2 separate regions of the Homo sapiens genome follow, and region 1 is linked to region 2. The links are contacts of gene promoters, found by promoter capture Hi-C in blood cells and fetal thymus (Javierre and others, 2016). All regions are on one chromosome and are shown on one strand. Each heading gives the region's core, a stretch centred on a gene start or on the middle of the fragment in contact. The rest is flanking DNA. Distances are from core to core; before and after follow the strand shown.

Region 1 (3,642 bases), core at 546-3,045, 50 kb after region 2:
ATTAAGAAACTGACAAAGGATGCAAGTTCTTGGTTTAAGGAGCCAATGGTATGATGTGTTTCTTGTTGGGCTTGGAGTATAGGTGCAGGGTATTGTGTGGGGGTTTCTTGCTCTGGTCACAGATTCTACTGAATCTCAAATACCAGTTAGTTTGGGGTATGCTCCTGTCCCTGACAGTGTGCCAGTGGAATGACAAGAATATTATTGTGAAGAGCACATTTTCTTCATGGAGTTTCTTATTTCACTGATACACAAAACCCCACAATGGTAGCTCTGACCTGGTGTGGTCAATGCTGAATGTGCCCCAGCTCCTCATAGCCCCTGCTTCAGGATGGAGGTGCTCATTCCCTCAGCTGCTGGGAGTGATGGCTGACAGCTTGTAGTGGAGTAATCCCTCCTGGTAATTGCCCTTGGCTGAAGAGAGGCATTGGGCCCCTTTCTGGGGGTAGCCTGCACTCGATGACTGACATATGAGAACATAAAGACCCTGCCTCTTAATTTGGATTGGAACAACTCTGCAGGGTCATCTCAGCTTCAGAGCATCCCGTGGGGGTCAGTTGAGGCTTTTGTGATGCCTGAATGTAGTCCAGCTTCTCCTTCTGTCCAATCCTGTTTCCTCTACTCTCCCATAGGTGTGGTTCCCAGGGACCCTCCCAAATACACTTCCAATCTGTTTCTGGAGGACCTGACCTGTAACTCCTGACAATATGTTCTGAATGCTGAAGGATGGAGATACACTTTGGAGTAAGATTCATATGAACTTTCATAAATTCTTGGGGTAAGGGTAATATATTTTTTACTTACTTAAACTCTTTCCCCAGTCCCTTCCTTCCTCAAGTTCCCTAGTCTTAATTGATTCCTAAATTGTACACATAGGCTTTAAAAATTTGACATTCTTTTTTTCTGATGGAAGATATAATTCGTCTTTAATGTAAAAAATTCAAACGTGAAGTATATACATATACATGCTTGAGTGCACATCAAATAGCCATCATTTACTTGAAGGTCTAATGTAGCCTCTGCATCCTCACACAGCTCTGAACATTGAATAGCTCTGCTCTGAGCTATTCAAAGGTCTGTGTATGACCTTTACACCTGGAATAATACTTCTGAAGATAGATGGGCATTGACAATAAGAATAATAGTACTATATGGAATTAGTTTACAAAGCACTTTCAACCCATTATATTGATTTATTTCACCGCATCCTTGAGAAAGCCTGGCCATGTTAGCCCTATTTAATATATGGGGAGTAACTTGCTGAAGTGGGTTATAGGAAATTTCTTCTGACAAGCTCCAATTTCTGTTACCAGCCAATGGACTCAAGCCCCTCATTCAAAGAAAACACCAGAAGAGACTTGGTGTTTTGTGAAATGGCACATTCCAAAATCTCTGTCACTGAGAAAAGGATGTAAGCTCAGGATCAAAGCATCGTCTTCAAAGAAGGGTAAGGTACTTGTTAAATAACTCCTGGCAATTGCTTAAGCACCAGGCATTGTAATTTCAGATAGTAGGAACAGAACTAAAAATAGAGAAGTGGATAGGGACAGGACCAGAGACATCATTGTCACTCAAACTTGAATGTCATTTTTGACAGCATTCGAGCAATTGATTCTTGATTCTCCACATTAGGAATTTAGTAGTCACGTTTTGCTGTGACAGCCCTAGGAGAAGAGAAGGGGCAGGACCCTGGGAAGAGTATAAAGAATGGAGGGTGAGAATTATTATCAGCCTGTGGTGCCTCTTTCTAGTCACGGTTCCTTTGATGGAAAAAAAAGGGCGGCGGGGTGGGGGATGAGAAGGAGCAGAAAGCTATTCAAGCTAGCTCCAATTTCCTGAAATGTTAAAGAGAAATCTCATGGACAGGATATGCAATCAGTCCCTGTGAAAGATTGGACCTGAGAACCAGAAAGCCACCAGGAGCTAAGCCATTCTCTTTATCTTCAGGAGCTACAGAGATCTCTGTCTCTGAAAATCTTCATCCTTTCTCCTAAACCTGCTTCCTCTGCATACTCATCTTGCTCACTTCCTCCCACGCAGCTCCCAGTCCACCTTAGTCTCATGATTTCCAAGCTCCAGTAGTCATTGGCAATTGATGACAGTCTCTGTGTCTCCTGGGCAAATTGTTATAAGGAGAAGACTGATCAGTCCAGATCACGTGTTGCTTCACATTGGAGCAGCTGCTTTGGGGTTAGATGTCTAACCCTGGTACACTCAGCCATGGTTGGAGGAGATGGGGAGGGTGGTTATGGGGTAGGGAGTGATGCTCTTTCTAGGTAACCTGGCAGACTAGATTCTCCAGAAGGGGCCATGAGTAGGGCAGGCAAGGAGACCTGTTTATTATATCCTTGCTGACCCATGTTTCCATCCTGTTCTGAATCATGTTCCATGAGCTAGTCTAGTATATAGAAGTTGGGTAATCATAGCAGGGAGTCATTGTGTAGAGTGTGGCATCTGCTCTAAATGGGTTTATCATCTGGTTGATGCAATAAGGCACACGCCCAAGAAAAGGAAAACCTATCAGGCAGTGCCTACTGAGCATCAGATGACTGGCATGGGCATTATGGGTTTTAAACATTTAGAGGAGGAGAGATCATAGTGGCTAAGCGCAAGAAGTATTGCCCAAGAGAGGTGGGGATGGACATGGGTCTTGAGGGGTGGGAAGGATTTGGAGAGAAAGAGGGGAGGAGAGGAGAATAGGAATACATGACACATGCCCAGGGCACAGTGAATAGACCAAACTATTTTAAGCATAAGCTGTGTGTTGGAAAGTACAGAAAGGTATGTTAGGGAAAATAGGTAGAAATGAAATTGTGTAGGACTTTGAATACCAAACTAAATAGTTTGGATTTTATTCTGAACATTGTGTGAATGGTGCTTGCTAAGGGCATGGCATGGTCAGGGCCATGCTCTAGGATCACCCTCTGCAGTGGAGGAGGCCAGAGATTATGGGGAGACCATTACAATGTGACCAGTATCATGGGCAATAGGCTCGAATATGAGGAGATAAGGTCAAAAGGCTTTGGAAAGAAAAGGAAATCTCTGTTATTTAAAGTCTCGGTTGCCGGTTGACTGTGTCCAGGGAAGCAACTGCCAGAAGCTGTGGTCTTTAGCTACCTGCAACCCAAATGTCTCTGGCTGCTGCAGCCTGTGAGTGAAAATACCACCACATAAAAATTAGCACCCAGATATTAAGAACTCTGAGCTCCCATGTACACATAGTCTCCATAGAGTTCTTCTTTTGACCAGAGAGCTTGGATGAAAAATCTAGTAAATTGGCAGAAAAGGAGTCTATCAGAAGCATATCTAATTGCTCATACATGGATGGGAAGTGTGGGAAAACTGGCTGGGAAAATAACAGCCAAGTTCATGTCATCCATCCTTCCCAATGAACCCTTGACTCCACTGTCATAGCCATGAATAAACTCCTTCCAGAGCCAAAGTCTTACGTGGGCATCTGATTGACTGAGTCTAGGTCATCTTCGTAAGCCCTGGATTGTAGTGAATTACAGGAGGGAAATCAAGGTTGGGTGTCCTGGCTCATGCCTGTAATCCCAGCACTTTGGGAGGCTACAGAAGGAGGATCCGTTGAGCCCAGGAGTTCAAGACCAGCTTGGGCAATGTAGTGAGACCTCATCACCA
Region 2 (3,527 bases), core at 1,017-3,516:
CACTGTAATTTGGCAATCTCTCTTACAGACTAAAGACTAATTCTAACAAGATGTCATTTTGACTCACGTTTATTATTACCTGCAAGAATGAAAAACGCCGTTTACTCGGGAGGTGCCCGAGAACCAGGGTGGGGCGATCTCACATTTTAAGCAAGACGCCCGCTGCCTTACCAAAATAGCCCTCTCCGCCAAAGGAGGGGCAGCCTTTCACGCTCAGCTTCTTTCATGTCAGCCCGAGCCTTTGCAGCAAGACGTGCCTTTCCTACATGTTACATTTTAATGATCTGAGAAAACCGTTATCAGCGTTAACATCTCTAATTTTACTCTAAACAGACAAAAGCAAAATATCTCATTAGGCATCATCTCCGCCAAGGTTCCCACTAGGCAGGAAAGGATTTTTATCTAAAGTAATTACCCTTTTTAGTTAAATACACTCAACAGATGAAATTTACAGAGAGTGAGAGACTGCAGCACTAGACAGCGAAGGTGAAAACCAGGAACGCCGCGTCTCGCCGCCCGCGGGCCCGCCGGGAGACTGCGGGTCCGTCTCGCGGGTGGGGCGCCCCGGTCCCTCTCGTTTCCTGGAGGCCACAGGTCACGGCGACGGCGGTGACCGGGAGAGCAGGCTGCGAGGCGCGCCTCATCGGGCCACAGACAAACCACCCCGGCAGCGGCCGCGCCGGAACTTCCCTCAAGTTACCAAACTCGCCTACGCGCGGGAGAGTGCTGGGGATGCCCCATGCGCCCGCGACCCCAGAAGCCAGGAGTGTGCCACCCCTTCACACACTCACTCCCGGCCCTGCACGCTTCCCCTCACGGTCCGAGTTCCTGCAAATGCTTGGCCAGACCGAGGTCGCCGAGATGCTCGCTCCAGTCTCTCCCCTCGTGGGCACCTAGGGTAGCCCGTGAGCGCCGCCCGCCGCCGTCTCCAGCGGCGCCGGGCTCCCGAACACCCGCCGGGTGAGCGAAGCACAGCGGGGCCACGGAGCGCCTCGACGCGGGGACGGGGAGGGCAGTGTCCCCTTCATAAACCAGTCTCCTGGGTGAAGCTTCTGGGGCTTGGAGACTGGAGTGTAGGGTGTGTGTGTGTGTGTGTGTGTGTGTGTGTTGCACCTTGACTTCATGGAGGATCTGTGGGAGAGGAGGTGCAAGGTTTCCCTCTCAGAAGCCTGGCGCCCTTAGGTCTTAGCTACGCGGGACGCTTTCCGACAACCCGATCTTTCGCTAGGAGAGATTCGATCCAGGTCTGCGCCGCGAGGCCCCCAGCTCGCCTCTTCCTGCGACCCTAAACTTGGGCTTTGATTCCCCGCCGGTCGCGGTGGTCCGGGCCACCCGGCGGCGGCTGACAGCTGAGCGCAAAGGCGCCGCGGCCAAGGTCCTCGCGGAGCAGCCCGGGATGCGCACGCCGAGGGTTAAGGAGGAGGCCGCCCGGCCTGGAGCTGGGATCGCAGGCTGGGGGCCGGGACACCCGGGCCTCGCCGGGCCGGGGGCAGGGCCGCGGGTCTGACAGCTGCTGCGGCTCGCGCGGACGCGCGCCTCCTGCAGCCCGCCCTCCCCATGCCTGACTTATTACTCTCTGCTCCTCCTCCCTCTGCTGTTCCAAAACACCCTTCGACGCCAGCAAAATACAATGCGCCTCGGCCGCCGTAAACAGCCGGGAGGGAGAGCACACATTCGGCGCGGCGCGGCCGCCGGCTCGGCTCCCACCCCCTTCCCGTTCCTAGAAAATGCCATAAAAGCGGGCAGGGCGCGGGGAGGGCGGCTGCGCGCCCGGCGGCCGGGGCTCCCTTCCCGCGCCGTTTCCCCACGCCTCCCCGCCCGCCCCGCGCGCCCGCTCCCCCCGCAAACTTGCCCCGCCACCCCGCCCAGCGGCGGGGCCCGGGGCCCGGGGCCCGGGACTCACCTCGCCGGAGAACTTTGCGTCCTTTTCCGCCTCCTCTTCCCCGCGTCTTCCCGGCTCGCAGCCCCCTCCCGGCAGCCGGCGAGGTGGGCAGTTCGTGGGTCACCGAAAGCTCGCGGAGGGGACGCGCATCACATGGCAGCTCGTTCCCAGCCCCCCGAGTGCGCCGGGAAGGGGGAGGGGAAGGGGCGAGGGGAGGCCGGGGGGAAAGCGAGAGCGGGGCGGCGGCGGGAGTGGGCAGGCGGGGTGGCGAGGGCGGCGGCCGCTCACGTTAGCGCTGTGCGACCGCAGCCCGGGCGTGCACGGCCGCTGCTGCCGCTGCTGCTGCTGCTGCTGCTGCTGAGGCGGCGGCGGCTCGGCGCTGTTTGCTCCGCGCCGCGCGGCTTGCGCTCTCCCCGGAACGCCCACACTCTCAATCGCTACATTGTTGACATTCGGCGCTGACGTCACCCGCTCCCCATTCACAATAACTTTACGGGAGCCGGGCAGCGCACCTCCCCGGCCGCTGGGGCGCGGTACGCCCGGCGACTAGCGTAAGCCGCTCCGCGAATGGCGCTCCGGGGGCTGGGGCGGGGGGCGGGGGACGGGGGCGGGCGCGCGCGCTCCGCTGGCTCGCGGGAGGGGGCGCGCCTCATGCCGCCGCAGCAGCAGATCTCCCCGCTTTGTGCGGCCGCGCGGCCCGGAGAGCCCCCTCCTCCCGGCCCGGCTGACCGCCCCGCTCGGCCTGGCCTTCCCGGCCACGAAAGACGAGGGTTGGGGGCATAGCAGGGTGAGAGTAGTGGTGAGGGCTGGTGTGGCACGTGGGGAGGGGGCCAGAGCCCTAGGTGCTGCACCTGGGGAAGGAGAGCAGACGTCGGGACCGGGGATCCCAGGGTTAGCTAGCGTTTTCCCGGAAGGGCAAGAAAAGATGCTCCACTGGCCCCCACAAAGCTGACCGGACTCCCTTTTGGGTGGGGACCGGGCGAGTAAAAGCAGCCTTTTGAATGTTGACTTCTCAATCCTTTTCAGGAGGCCCTCCGCCTGCCCTACTGAGCGAACCTTTAAGCCCCCAAGCCAGTGTTTTTGGAAAGAGAGTGGTCAATTTCAGGAGGACATTAAAAGCCAACCTCCCGGGCTTCAGCCCCAGCTCCTACTGCCTTCCAGCCACTCTCCCCTGCCTTTCCTTTCTGCGGCTCTTAGGATGTTGTTGCTGCCCTTAAAGGCCGTCGTGTGAGTGCCCTGTCAGAAGAAAGCTTGGTGGTGGTTAGGATTTTACAGAAGGTAATTAGGATTTAGGCTGAATGTACATTTGCAATAAAATAAGGTTGTGTTAGTGTTGTGCTGGTGCCTGCAACTTTACCTCTTGCCAAGGCCAGAAAATTCTGCCACGTTTCCCTAAACACCTATAACTTGGCCCTCTTGTGTACAGGCAGTATTCCATATTATTACACGTGGTGCTGATTTTTAATGAATATTATAAAAGTTTGGCTCGCTCTACTGAGAGAAGGATCATAAATCCCCCCTGTAAAACGGGCACTGGCGTATGCTGAGGAAGCAGTGAAGCGTCCTGGGAGTCTTGTGATATCATCTAAAGTGTTGCTCTGAACTACCTTCATTTGAGGGCAGAGTTTTGAAAGGCCCCATTTGG

Evidence for each region. The method cuts DNA at HindIII sites, captures the fragments that hold promoters and counts their contacts. A CHiCAGO score of 5 or more calls a contact.
Region 1: a fragment that was not itself captured here is called in contact with the fragment with the promoter of BACH2 in region 2 in 6 of 17 cell types (total B cells, naive B cells, activated CD4 T cells and 3 more); the score reaches 13.5 in total B cells.

Annotation. Positions count from the first base shown.
Region 1 is chr6:90,345,344-90,348,985 of GRCh38, forward strand. LOC105377891 (a long non-coding RNA gene) reads left to right here. Exons shown (of 7, transcript XR_942778.4): 3 at 1-48; 4 at 633-778; 5 at 1,314-1,447. Among named protein-coding and RNA genes, the nearest start is that of MIR4464, 34 kb to the left of the region's middle. The HindIII fragment of the contact is 4,845 bases long and covers 1-3,642 here.
Region 2 is chr6:90,294,577-90,298,103 of GRCh38, forward strand. It overlaps BACH2 (BACH transcriptional regulator 2), which reads right to left and starts at 2,267. Exons shown (of 9, transcript NM_021813.4): 1 at 1,904-2,267. It overlaps LOC105377891 (a long non-coding RNA gene), which reads left to right and starts at 2,663. Exons shown (of 7, transcript XR_942778.4): 1 at 2,663-3,160. LOC124901361 (a long non-coding RNA gene) reads right to left here and starts at 630. Exons shown (of 2, transcript XR_007059676.1): 1 at 1-630. RefSeq lists an enhancer at 573-662 and silencers at 1,446-1,505, 2,131-2,180. The HindIII fragment of the contact is 2,083 bases long and covers 1,048-3,130 here.